3 separate regions of the Homo sapiens genome follow, and regions 2 and 3 are each linked to region 1. The links are contacts of gene promoters, found by promoter capture Hi-C in blood cells and fetal thymus (Javierre and others, 2016). All regions are on one chromosome and are shown on one strand. The core of a region is centred on a gene start or on the middle of the fragment in contact, and the rest is flanking DNA. Distances in the headings are between cores, read along the strand shown.

Region 1 (4,257 bases), core at 279-2,778:
CCAGCCAGGCTGAGGTTGGCACCAGGCTCCGAGGAGGATCCCGGACGCGGAGCCTGTAGTCTCGGTGCCTGCGGCTCTTCGCTGGTCCCGCCTCCCTCCCTCCTGGCTTTTAGCCTCACGTTGGCTCTCTGCTCACTGCGCGAAAGGGTTCAGCTCCATTTAAGACCCACTACGCGGCGGCACTGGGTGGGAGGCCGGCCGCGGACCCTGGGGCTGCGGAGCCACCTCTCACTGGCTCCGGAGAACCCGCTCGGCTTCAACCTCCTTCTAGCTGTCTTAGCCTAACCCGGGAGCAAGTCCACACGGCGGGACACACACACACACACACACACACACACACTGAGCTGCTCACAACTCCCCAGCCCCGGAAGCGTCCATACCTCCCTGCACACGATAACCACACGCTCCATGGCACGCATACACACACTCCCAGCCCCATGAAGCCCACGACTCCCAGGCACCTGCACCCCCACCCATCCCACATAAGCAGACTCTTGTCCAGTGTCACAGTCCCATCTCCTGTGCACACAGAAATAGTAATCCGCTGTCGTACACCCCTAGAGACCTGCACACTCGGGACACACGTGAAACGCCAAACCTCACATACCCACCCCCTAACACCTCACACCCACAGTGACACAAGCTCACACACTTCACACCCTCACAGGGAAGGTGGCACATGTTCACACCCTCCCCCCAACATTCGCTCACACTCTCACACACACACCTTCTCCATGTAACTGACACAGACACTCTAACACCCATCCAGACCCTCGCTCACTCACACGCAGACCCCACACCATCACACACACACGCACACACACACTTGCATCTCTAAATACACTCCCGCACCTTCTGCCCACACAGCTCCTTCCCGGACACCCTCACCCAGACACACAACAAAGACACACAATTTACACACACACACACACCCTGGCACAAATCCATGAGCGCTCTCCAAGAGGCGTCCTCCCTCCCTCATCGAGCCAACCAGCTCCACAGACCCCGGGCAGGACCGGTGCTCGTAGCCCGAGCCTCTCGGAGCGACCCCGGCCAGCGCCCTCCCCCGGCACCCCGTCCCCGCGCACGTTCACCGCTCGGCTCCCGCCAGGCGCCCGCGCACTCACCGCGCGCCAGGTCCAGGATCGCGGCGAGCAGCAGGCAGACGCAGCGGCGGAGGCTCGGGGCGGTTCGCATGGTGCCCGGGAGCTGGCGGCGGTGGCGGGGCGGCGGGGGTGGAGGCGGTGGCGGCGGGTCCCCTCGCCATGGGCTCAGACGCGCTCCTGCCTCCGGCCACTGGCCGAGGCGGTGGCGGGCAGCGCGGAGAGCCGCGGGGGCGCCCCCATGCCGCCGCGGCCAGGCAGCCCGGGCGCCCGGCTCGACTCGGCTCCGGCTCTGCGAGGCGCAGCGACCCTCGCGCTCTGGGCGTCCTCGGGGCTCGCCGCGGTTCTCGGCTCCCTAGCTGCGCGCGGTGCCCACCGCGGCCCAGAGTCCGATCGGCTGCAGCGCCGGAGTTTGGAGCCGAATCGCGCTCTCTGCCTCGCGCTCGCCTCTCCCGGCGGCGCGAGCACCCCCCTCCTCTCGCCCTCCCTCCGTCCCTCCCCCTCTCCCCGCCCCCCCGCCCTCCTTGCCCTCCCCTCGCCGCGCTCTCCGCGTATTATACAGACTTTTCTTTAATCCTTTCTGGGCTGTTCGGCTCTCGTCCGCTAAGCCGATTTATTGCAGGGAGAAGGAGAGCTCACCCCCTCCTAACCTCCCCTCTCCCCTCACTCAGGTCCCCCCTCACTCAAAACTGGCTTGCTGCCTCCAGCTTCTTAACCCTTACCCAGGTGACCCAACACCCCGCCCTGGAAGCTATGCTCCATCGGATCCGCCTTTACCTAGCCCCTCCTATCCCCGGGATTACCATCGCCCTCCCCGCTACTCAGCCTGATGAAAGGAGGCAGCCTCCCTCCCGAGAGGGAAAGATGCCATCCTGGGAGCAGGGCAGGCAGGGTGTGGCTCTGGAGTTCTGACCTTGCCAACGATGAATGCCCTCATTGGGCAAGATTAAGGGGTTTCCATGTTCTGAAACTTCCCCAATTACGGCTGCTCCTTCCCCCAGGGACCCACGGAAATGGGGTGTGTTCTGTCTTTTTCCCATGTGCTAGGATCCAGCCAGGAAGGGTGAGGAACTGATTGTTTCCTCCTGGCAGAGACCAAGTTTCCACCTTTTTGCCAGACCTGACAGCTTTTCTTCCCAGGTCCGAGAAGAACAGGTTTGGGACTTGTATGTTACCATTACTCTCCCACCAACACACACGCGAGCACACACACACACACACACACACACACACACACACCATTGAGCCTCAGCCCTGGCGGTGGACTTTGAGGCCTCCTGCGAGGATGAAGGGGAGGGGTACTCTAGCCCTTGGAGTGGACTGGGGATGTGGTTAGATGAGGAAGTTCAGGAGATAGAATTTCACCATTGGTAGGGACCCAGAAGATTGGCAAAGCCCAGAAAAACCAGCACGACCAGGGGCAAAACCTGCTCAGAACTCAGGTGGGTCCCTTTACCCAGGCCTTCTATGGAGAATCTCCAGCTTCCCTAGCTCTGGCAGGTTGCTGAGTCAGGCTGTTGCATCGTTTACCTACATGGGCAATGGGTCTATAGCCAGTTCCATCTCCAGCAGCCCTCTGAGAGGAGTGTAGGGAGTGGGGTGGGCAATGGGTGGTTGCTGGGCTGCCTCTGGGTGAGCTTTGTGCAGAGATGTCCATGAAAGTGAACTGCTCCCTCCTCCTGCCCTCTGGAACCTCACCCCATCGCCTCCCAAGGCAGCTCTGCGGCTCAGCTTGCTCACCCACCCCAGAAGGAGCGATTTGCATTTATGAAGATCTGAAAGCATACGTTCACCTGACAGGCTTTAGAATGATCCTCTCAGTAAAATAATAATAATGATCATAATAAACCCTTATAAATAGGTGTTTGATTACAGTTTGTCCCTAAGTGGGATTTTTTTTTTTTTTTTTTTTTTTTTTTTTTGTGAATCAGACTAATTGGTTCCAGGTTGATTGGACTGCATATGGCTTGAACACTTGATGAACACTGGAGTCTTAGGTCCTTTCTTCTCCCTTTGGCTGCTGTTCTTTGCTCCCTCTCACTCGCATCCACCCAGGTCTCCCCTTCTCCAGGCTGCTGAGGGTCAGCTTGAGGTCACCTCTCCCCCTCACCTTCTTCTCAGGCTGCAGGGCACAGTCCCTTACTGCCTCCTCCCTGGCCCTCCCTCCCCACTCTGACCCAAGAAAAAGTCAACAAACCCAAAAGTCCATCCCAGGTTCTAAATCCTCTGTGGAAGGGGCTCCCTGGCTGGGGAACAGCATCAGGTTCATGCGGTTCCTTGTGCTGGTCTGAGTTGTGCAGGGAAATGCCAAGCATCGCTGTGTGGGCATTCCTACTCTCTGGCCCCAGCTGCAAATCGGCGTGCAGCTAGGCAGGTGGACAGCATCAGTTCCTCAGGTGAACCCTGAATTGGTGGGGCTTCCTGGCTGCGCTCCCTGCAGCCCAGCCCTTGGAGATGAGGGCCAGGGAGCAGGTGGGATTCCAGGGCCCCTTAGTGATGTTTCTTCCCAGCCATGGTTCACACCAGCTAGAAAAGAGAGCCAGCAGAAGGAGCTAGAGAATGGCATCTGAGGATATGCTAGTGAGGAGGAAAGCAGGCCTAACAGCCAAGGGAGGGTTGCTTCCTAGGACCAAGGATTGGGGCTGGTGTGTTGGAGATCTCCTTCAGCCCCAAGACTTCTGAATCACCTCAATTCTCTTTAACATCACCCTGTATTATAATTATTATTATGCCTAGCCAGTGCCTGACACATAGTGGATCCTCAATAAATACCAGTTGGATGAATGCGTGAATGAATGAATGAATGAATGAATGAATGAGGGTAGGTCATTCAGTCTTATCCACTCTGTTCCTCAGCTCCTTGCACAAGTCTGGCACTTGGTAGGCGTCCTGTGGCAGTGAACCTCCTTGGAGCGCCAGGATCACATATTCTGACTGGGCCCATCAGAGAGGAGGTGTCTGCTCAGGTGCGCAGTTTGGTTTTGCCCAAAGGGGCCTGGCTGTGATGTGCATGTCTATGGCCATATGGTAACCATAGTGGTTAATACGGCTGCCTTCACAGGCCCCTCCAGGGAAGCCCACTCCTCCAGCTCCTGTTTCATAAGATATAGCTTTAAAGCCTTTCCTTTGTCCCAGAGAAAGACATCTCTGGAGC
Region 2 (4,503 bases), core at 1,161-3,660, 420 kb after region 1:
CCAGCTCTGTACTGTCCTCCCTGCATTTAAACTCACACTTACAGACACTGCATGACAGACACAGAAAAATGTGAATGCTACAGAAAATGCAAAAAAAAAAGAAAGAAAGAAAGAAAGAAAGAAAGAAAAAAAACAAAACAAAACAAACACACCAAAAGCTGGGGGAAGAAGCGGGACAGGGGAGGAAGAGCTGCACCCTGAGGCTTACTCCAGGAGCAGGACGGGATGATTTTCCTCTTTTCCAGTTTTCTGGCTTTTCTCCTTTTTCCATAAAGAATTTGTCCTGGGAGGAAGCCCAAGACTGCAGGAGGATCCTGGACGGGGCATTTATTTGAGATCCAACCTGCTATTAAATCTGACTTCCTTGGCAGCTTCACAGGCCCAGGCCTCAGTTTCCTCAATTGTAAGTACACGCTGCTATGAGGATTACAGGTACCTGGGTGAGGAGAGCTTGGCACAGGCCCAGTGCCTAGTAGGGTCTCATTTATTCAGCAGATGTTCTTGAGTCCCTACTATGTGTCTGGTGTGGGTGTAAGTGCTGGAAATGTCGTGATGACTGCAAGACCCACTCTTGTGGGGCAAACGTTCTCAGGACAGGAGGCAATTAAAACAAAGAAAGATTACATCAGATAGTGAGAAGCACTGCACAGAAAAAATACTGAAAGCCATTAAGACTGGGGTCAGGGAAGGTGTCTCTAGGAGGTGACATTTAGTGAGAGACCTGAATAATGGGGAGGAAACAGCCCCTCAATGATTGGGAGGAGGGGGAAGAGCATTCTAGGCAAAGGGCACAGCAGTGCAAAGGCCCGGAGGCAGGAATGAGAAGCAGAGGGACCCGTGGTGGGGGGCACAGCAATGGGACAGGCCAGAGCAGGTAGGGCCAGATTGCACCAGGCCACCTTGGAATCCATGGGGAACAGTTTAGATTTTATTTGCCCACTGGAGGGGGTTGAGCTGGTAAGTGACAGAGTCAGTTTTACTTTTAAAGAAGCTCAGTCTGACAACAGTGTGGGGAAGGCTGGCTTCTTTGTCCAGCCCCCGAAGACCTCGCGTGGGCTTAGCAAGTGGAGAGGGAGGAACAGGACTCAGCTTCTTTTGCCCTGGAGGATGGCCCCAGCTCCTTCCCAGCTCAAATCACTAAGCGGTTTCCCACTGAGTTAAGGAAGCTTGTGAGGGGCGGGGGTCTCCATGCGGAGCTAAGCCAGTGAGCTCCGGGCTCATTCCTGATCAGAGTGTGGGGACCAGGAGGGCAAGACTGTGAGCTGTCCAAGGAAATTGCTTTTTCTGAGCCAGTCCCTGATGGCTGAGCTGCGAGTAGCAAGGGAGGCAGGGGTAGCAGGAAAGGCCAGGCTCCCCAGAGGAGGGGAGGGGAGGGGAGAAGAGACAGCAGTGTGGTTCCTCTCCCCAGGGTCAGGCTGCTCTTGGAACAGGGGTTCTACTGCACAGCCCACCCCTGACCAGGGGGATGCCCCCAGAGCAGAAGCTGTAGTTTCCTCAGACCGAAAGTTCACCAAAGGCAGGGGTGCGGTGTCTCCATTGGGTGGGGGCCCCCCAAGAGCAAGGACAGAATCTTGTATCAAGCTGGGCATGCTCAGAGGAAGCGAACTGTCTCCTGTCTCAGATTGGGGGCTCAGGCTAAGGGCTCCAGAGGTATCGGGGGTCTCTTCCTCTTTTCTTAGCCACCCACTCCCGGCCCTCAGAGAAGGCCCAGGTGCAAGAGGCTCAGAGCCTCTGATTTTTGGGAGGAGGCCACGCCTCCTCACAGCCTGTGCAAAGTCAGGTTTAGTAGTCCATGCTGTGTAGGGGAGAGACCATGCCCCCATCTCTCTAGCCCTCCGCCCATATCTGCTGCCCACAGCCCGGGCCGTCCTGGCTTTCAGTTCTCTCTTCCTGCGATGTATGTTCCTTCAAGGAAACATGCAGAATGATTTTGTTTTGCCAAACCAGCCTGTAGGAGGAATCCAGGAGGAAGGAAACCTCCCATGAGGCCTTGCTGGGAAAAGCCAGCTGAGGCAGCATCAGCCCAAATCACAGATGAGGACAGTGAGGCCAAGGGGACCCCTTCAGCACCTGCTGTCGGCGAGCAGTGGGGCGAATGGATGGGGTAGCAGGACAGTCAGTGAGACCCAACATGCTTTGTCTGCAGGCTTTTCCAAAACACAGCACGCAGCTCCTTGCTCACGGATGCACAAACATGCACACACTGAGAGAGGTATCTGCATGCTCACACGCGTGCAGCCAGCCTGCCGCTCGACTCCCGAAGAAAGGTCAGAAGTATTTTCAGCCTCCGAAAAAGCCAAGCGCACTGAAACCCAGAGGCCTGGGACCAAGGAAAGCTGCACCTGAATCTGCAGCCAGCCAACCCTGTGTGCTGCTGTCAGAATCTAATTAAAAGAGAAGTCGGTGGTGGAAATCCAGGCTCATTTCTCCAGTGGCATAACAAGTCTGTCTCCAGGCCCAGAGGGCTTAGCAGAAGGCTTGTGCAAACCTGCTGAGCCCAAAGCGGGGAGGCCGGCGGGGGAAAGGGCAGGAATGAATAGGGAGAACAGCACAGCACCTCCAGCCCCAGCCCTAGCCCCAGCCCCAGCCTGGCATGTCTCAGCTACCTCTGGGCTCCTGGGTCCCCTTCTCACACCACGAGCCTGGAGTCCTGCCTGAGCCTCCTGGGCCCACAGGGCAGGGAGTAGGTGGAGCCAGAGAGACATGCCAGGATCACGGGTCCCAGAGGGGGCTGAGGGACTGAGCCTGGCACCCAAGTGAGAGCAGGGGGCAGTGAGCACCCGGGTGAGAGCAGGAGGCAGTGAGCACCCCGGTGAGAGCAGGGGGCAGTGAGCACCCCGGTGAGAGCAGGGGGCAGTGAGCACCCCGGTGAGAGCAGGGGGCAGTGAGCACCCGGGTGAGAGCAGGGGGCAGTGAGCACCCCGGTGAGAGCAGGGGGCAGTGAGCACCCGGGTGAGAGCAGGGGGCAGTGAGCACCCGGGTGAGAGCAGGGGGCAGTGAGCACCCCGGTGAGAGCAGGGGGCAGTGAGCACCACGGTGAGAGCAGGGGGCAGTGAGCACCGCGGTGAGAGCAGGGGGCAGTGAGCACCCCGGTGAGAGCAGGGGGCAGTGAGCACCCTGGTGAGAGCAGGGGGGAAGCCCTCACTGCTCACTGGTCTTGCTGCTGCCAGGCCATGCAGCTCATTTCATTTTCCAAACACAAGGTATCCACGTACCCTGAGAGAGCTCAGAATTCATTGCCAGGGGAGGCTGTCAGCTCATCAAACTCTGCTCTCCTCCCAACCAGAAAAGGGTGAAACCCTGCTCACCCAGCACCCCAATCCCAGGCCAAGCACCTCCAGACCTGTGCCCTCATCCTTGGCTGGTCTGGGAGGCCCAGAAGTGTGGGGTTGGTGGGGTCAGGGGCTGTCCTACTCTCTAAGAGGCCTCTAGCCCCCTTATCCCTGAAAAAGGCCACCTGCCCACCCACCACCAGGAATGCCCAGTGCTTCCTGCCCCCTCAGCCTCCATTATCCAGACACAGCTATTTACTGGGTGAGCGCTCACCCTGCACCAGAAACCGTGCTGTTAGGTTTATACACTAGAGCAGCCGTCTGCAAACAATGCCCCTCAGGCTACAACCAGCCTGCACCAGTTTTGGTAAATGAAGCTTTATTGGAACACAGTCACATCCGCATAGAAAAGAACCCATTCAAGTAGCTCAGGATCATGGCATTCCAACTGTACACCCCTGGTCCCTGCTGAAGGACAAAATGATCTGCAAGGGAAACCTCAACTTCCTTGGCAGGCTTGGAGGTGGTGGGGCAGGCACAGTGATTCTGAACCTATGTGGTGGGACTGAGATACACTGATGTTATTGGGAACCAGGGTTTGCACAGAGAGAAGAGAGTCCGGTGTGGAATGGGAGAGACGAGGGTAGACTCCAGGATCTCAAATCTAAATCAGAGGTATCAAAACGAACCCCAACTCGAGAGTTCTTCCCTGGCCCTGTCCACTGAAAGAGCCTGAAGGCAGTGACTCTAGCCAGGGTGCCCTGGAGAAATGCCTAGAACTTCTCACAGATGAAAAGCAAGGAAGGGCTCAAAGAACAATGGGGATGTGTCCAAAGGACCCAGGAGCCAACACGAAGGGGTCCCCGCTGGCCAAATTCAAGACAATGTGAACATCAAAAATAATAATGATGGTCCTGATTAGAGCACGCTGGATTTTTTTTTTTTAAATCTAGGAATTTGTAGTGATAGTAAGGGCAGGGTGTGGAGTGGGGTCAGGTGAATCTCTGTAACTAGTGACAACTAGTCAATGCAGAAGGCAAGGCAGAATTAGACAATGGTGAATTAGCAATCACCAAGGATCACCCATGGATGACAAAGCCCCAGGGGGAAAGTTTGTGGAGGAACTGGATATTCACACAGTCTCCAAGAATCACCCAAAGGTGACTGAGTAATCACAAAGGGAAACCAGCACCTTTAGAAGGAGAGATCCAGCCGACGCTACCCTAACCAA
Region 3 (4,622 bases), core at 1,157-3,656, 470 kb after region 1:
CCATGAAGCTAATGGGGCGGCCGGACCTGTGGTGAGAAGGGTTAGAGTGGATGTGTGAGTACCCACACAAGGGCCAGGCTCCCCCAGCTGTCACGTAGTACTTCCTCCAACCCACGCGCCCTGGAGATCAAGGAGGTCTGGTCAGAGCATCCCCAAAACGTGGCCAAAGAGGTCAGTGGCTTGGCAAAGCCTCGGTCCCCTGGGGGAGGAATCCCTCCGCCCACAATGACCCCCAGAGGGAGGTACCTGGCCAGGGTGGCTGAGCCACGCTCCCCAGCCTGGCTCCAGGAGCCTCTGGCTTTGTGCCCGGCAGAGCCTCTGCAGGCTGTGACTCCACCTGGTCAGCGGTCAGCTGTCCACAGGTCTTAGACACCTTACATGTCTGACCACGTGCCTCTAGAGGGAGGAATGGGTCTCACTTGGGTCTGTTCCCAGCACCTGGCATGGGACAGTTGCTCAGTAAATGTTTGCTGAGTGGACACAGGAATGAATGAAGAAATGAATGAATCAGGTTAAGCACCAGCTTGGGGCAACCAGAGGTTGCTGTTGTCACCACGCTGTCCTCTCACCTCAGAGCAGTGGGGGCCTTCCCAGCCCTTTGGGAGGTGGGCAGGGCAGTGTCACAAGCCTCTAGGGTGCACGTGGAGAATGAGAGGCAGAGAGAAGGGAGATGGAGGAAGGGAGACGGACAGGCCACTCAACAGGGAGGCGGCAGATTCAAAGCTGCTGACTCCTACACATGGTCCCCTGGGGGACTGAGCCCATGGTCCTACCTCAAATGATAGTGCTCCAACCTTCTCTTCCTTGCAGCCACTGTGCTTGTGACACTCTATCCCCACCTTCACCCCACCCTGGAGGCCAAAACCTGGGCATTGAGCCCCCTCATTGCACTGGCCTGGGCTTCAGAGTCAGACCTCATCAGGACCCAGCTCTGTCTCTCACGATGTGGCCTTCAGCCTCTCCTGAAACTCTGAGCCTCACCTTCCTCATCTGTAAAATGGAAATAAAAAGACCCAACTTACAAAGCCTCAGGAGGACCAGAAAGATCCCGTTCCCTGTCTCTGCCAGGCCGAGCAGCTATGGCTGTCATCAGTTCCACAAACCTCAGTTGGGGTCTACTGTGCACAGCTCCTGTGGTGGGCATTCTGGGGCTAAGGTGGTGCTGGGGGGAGGCTGGGTCCAGAGAGAGGAAACCCAGGGCCTGGCCTGGGGGCCTAGATAGGCTGAAGTGACTGAAAAGGACACAGCGCAAATGGAACTGACCAATGGCAGAGTGTCTGAGTATCCTAACAGTGGGCCAGGCTTATCCAGGACATGACCAGGCTGTTCATTAATTCATTCATTCATTCCACAGTCTTTTCATGAGCACCTACTGCGTGCCAGATGCTATCCCAGACATGGCCCACGATGCCTACATATCCACTCCCACCATGGCATCTCGACAAATAAGAGGGCTCCAGGTACCCTCTCCGGATCCCCTGCTCCACTGGAAGCCCAGCAGAGGCAGCAGCCCTCCCTCCAAGACCCCCTCCTCTCACTTGTCGGGTTTCCCAGGAAGCAGGAGCCTGAGACGGCACTTGTTGGCCGAGTGGATCTCTTCCTCCTTCACCCGCATCAGCCTCTGCAGGGCCAGGCACCAGTCTTGAGCCACAGTCATGTTCAGGTTCTAGGGTTCAGGAGGCCAATGAGGTCACCACACAGCACACTGGCTCCCCAAAAGCCACACCAGATCCTATAGGAATCACAGCACCCCAGAGGAAGAGAAACTGAAGAAGTCCTGGAGCCTCACTGAGGCTGCACATTTAGCCCCACGCAGGAGGCCAACTCGCCATGCCCCAGGCTTCCCAGCCCTGGGCTCAGATCCCACCTGGAGCCCTCCTCTGAGAGGGACATGCCGTCGCAGCCAGCTTCCCCTCCACACTGGGTAGAGGCCCAGGAGGGGCCACATAACGGAATGGCCACTGTGCAGAGAACAAACAAAGGCCCCACAGCCAGGCTCCACTCAACCCAAACCAGAGGATGCGCCCGAACCAGCGGCCGCAAAAGAGACTTCCAGGCAGGGACATGGAGCTTCAGCAGCGACAGTTGCCAACAGGAGCTCAGAAGCTAGGAGCACATCGGGGACATGGGCCAGGAGAGGAGCCCCTCCCTACTCAGCTTTCTGAATCCAGGCACTGCCCACACTGGGGAGCTCAGGCCAAAAAGGTCAGGCCAGGCCACGTACCTGGTAGGTGCCGTGCAGCGTGCTGATGAGAAGCGTGATCTGCTCCACCACGGCCAGGTCCTTCTGCAGGTCCTGCAGCTCCTGGAAGAGGCGTGGGGGGCCGAGGTACACCTTATCTGGGCAGAGAAGAGACCAACTCAGGCACAGGTGAAGGCGCTAACAAGAAGCCAAGCATCTGCTCACAACAAAAAAGATCCAGAGGCTGGGCGCGGTGGCTCACGCCTGTAATCCCAGCACTTTGGGAGGCCGAGGCAGGCAGATCACGAGGTCAGGAGATCGAGACCATCCTGGCTAATACGGTGAAACCCCGTCTGTACTAAAAAATACAAAGAAAAAAATTAGCCGGGCATGGTGGCGGGCACCTGTAGTACCAGCTACTCAGGAGGCTGAGGCAGGAGAATGACGTGAACCTGGGAGGCGGAGCTTGCAGTGAGCCGAGATCACGCCACTGCACTCCAGCCTGGGTGACAGAGCAAGACTCCAACCCAAAAAAAAAAGAAAGAGTTCCAGAAAGTAACATCCAGTTCCTACCCTGACCAGAGCGCCCAGACTAGCTGGGAAGCCAGATCCTTTCAAGAGTAAAGTCTAACACCTGAGATCCAGGCCATAGTCAGTCTGTACAAAGGGCTGTATGAGACCACAAGACCAAGAGCAAGCTGTGCCTGGGAGAGAGGAGGGGCCTGCATAGGGCTGGAAGTGTGGTGGGCACTGCCAGGAGAGAAAGACAAGAGCGTGTGCAAAGGCACTGTGGCTTGAGGCAGCCCATGAACAGCAAGTTGTTCAAAGACATCCTGAGGACCTATCGTGTGCCAGACTCCATGCTAGAGACTGGAGACAGCAGTACACAAGACAGACAGGGTCCTCATTCTTCCGGAGCTTATGACCTTGGCAGGACAAGTGGCGGAGGAAGCAGTCAGTTAACAATGGTGGGTGGTAGGAGGTGGTGGGGAGAAAGATATCAGTGTGGTGGGACAGTGATGGGGTGAGGGGGCCCAGATCACCAGTGATGATACAGATGGAGTAAGGGTGAGATGGGGGTAGGGGGTGGCAGGTAGAGATAGAGCAGGAGGGTCCAGGAGGACCAGATGGGGAAGGCCTTGAACGCTAGGCCCCTGGGCTAGGAATTTGGACTGTATTCTCTAGGCCGTGGTTTTGCACACTGAGGTCTTATGAAGCCCCAGGGGAGTGGAGGGGAAGCCTTATTTGGGGTTTTCATTTAGATAATTATCTGAGTCACCTGTGTGGAATGAGTTTAAAGCCACACTCTGCTGCCTGATATCAAGGCTTCCATGGACTATGGCACCTGAATGGTCACCTGGTAACAAGCAAAGAGCATGGCGAGCTTGGGATGTGGACAATGTGCTCACATCAGAGGGGCTCTGCAGTGACCCAAACTGGGGAGCTCATGGGAAATGCAGATCCCCACAGGGCACCCTGTGGCACAGGCACGAAAGCGCAGAGGAACCTGCTCTACCAGGGCCTGAGCCACATCCACACTGTGAACAAATTGGTTTCAGCAAAACAACATCATCCATCACATTACATTAATGCTGTTAATTTGAATGTTATGGTTTTGTAGCTTTATTTTTATTCAATTTGTGATTTGGTGTTGGTTTTATGGTTCTTCAAGGGCTATAAGCAGAAGGAGTTGATTACAGGGAGTTTTGCGTTTGTATATATTTGAATAACAATATAATGAAGGGTTCCACAAGAACTTCTTTCCCCTTTCGAAGGGGTCTGGCAGTACGTGACTCTGGTTTGAGGAATGCGGCCACAGACACATCATTGTCACCGAAGGAGGGATCCCCTAAGCGTCCCTGGAGTGCATGAAGGATGCTAGACCGCATGACCAGCAGAAAGGAACCCTGTGCCCCAAGCGGCGGGGAGGGAGTGCAGTTGAGCCAGGGCAGAAGGTGCCTCCGAGGAAGGCACGTGGGGCAGAGGACTCTTCCTACCCAGCAGAGCTGAGGAAAGAGACAGCATCTGGAAGTGGGCACAGCTGTCACGGACCAGCACCCAGACGGCAAGAGTAGGTGGTGCAATCACTCCCTCAGAATTTCCAGAATTGTGGGTGGCCCATGAGGCAGCCTCCTGGGTCAGACAGCAGACAGAGGGGGAAGTGAAACCCCAGTGCCTTTCTCACCCACAGAAGATGCCTCGGGCACCAGGGTTCCTTTCTGCTGCAATTTAGCATCCTGCATGCATTCAAGGAACACTTATTAATGCCCACCGTACCCTAGGCTCCTGGACAGAGCTGCAGCCAGGCTGAGAGGAGAGACATCAACCGATCAATCACCCATAAAGGGGAAAATGTACCAGAGGTCTCGAGAGCACAGGAGGGGCGACCTGGCCCAGCATGAGGGCATAAGAAAAGGCTTCTCTGAGGAAGTGCCATTTG

The links. The method cuts DNA at HindIII sites, captures the fragments that hold promoters and counts their contacts. A CHiCAGO score of 5 or more calls a contact.
Region 2: a fragment that was not itself captured here is called in contact with the fragment with the promoter of IGSF21 in region 1 in 4 of 17 cell types (endothelial precursors, naive CD4 T cells, naive CD8 T cells and 1 more); the score reaches 8.8 in endothelial precursors.
Region 3: a fragment that was not itself captured here is called in contact with the fragment with the promoter of IGSF21 in region 1 in 3 of 17 cell types (naive CD8 T cells, naive CD4 T cells and non-activated CD4 T cells); the score reaches 6.6 in naive CD8 T cells.

What each region holds. Positions count from the first base shown.
Region 1 is chr1:18,105,069-18,109,325 of GRCh38, reverse strand. It overlaps IGSF21 (immunoglobin superfamily member 21), which reads right to left and starts at 1,528. Exons shown (of 10, transcript NM_032880.5): 1 at 1,128-1,528. The coding sequence starts at 1,197. The HindIII fragment of the contact is 15,130 bases long and covers 1-4,257 here.
Region 2 is chr1:17,681,704-17,686,206 of GRCh38, reverse strand. The region is part of intron 26 of ARHGEF10L (Rho guanine nucleotide exchange factor 10 like); the gene reads right to left. Among named protein-coding and RNA genes, the nearest start is that of LINC02810, 34 kb to the left of the region's middle. RefSeq lists enhancers at 1-96, 1,580-2,181, 2,968-3,528. The HindIII fragment of the contact is 2,483 bases long and covers 1,169-3,651 here.
Region 3 is chr1:17,635,606-17,640,227 of GRCh38, reverse strand. ARHGEF10L (Rho guanine nucleotide exchange factor 10 like) reads right to left here. Exons shown (of 29, transcript NM_018125.4): 19 at 2,225-2,340; 20 at 1,539-1,666; 21 at 1-26. Among named protein-coding and RNA genes, the nearest start is that of LINC02810, 80 kb to the left of the region's middle. The HindIII fragment of the contact is 6,979 bases long and covers 1-4,622 here.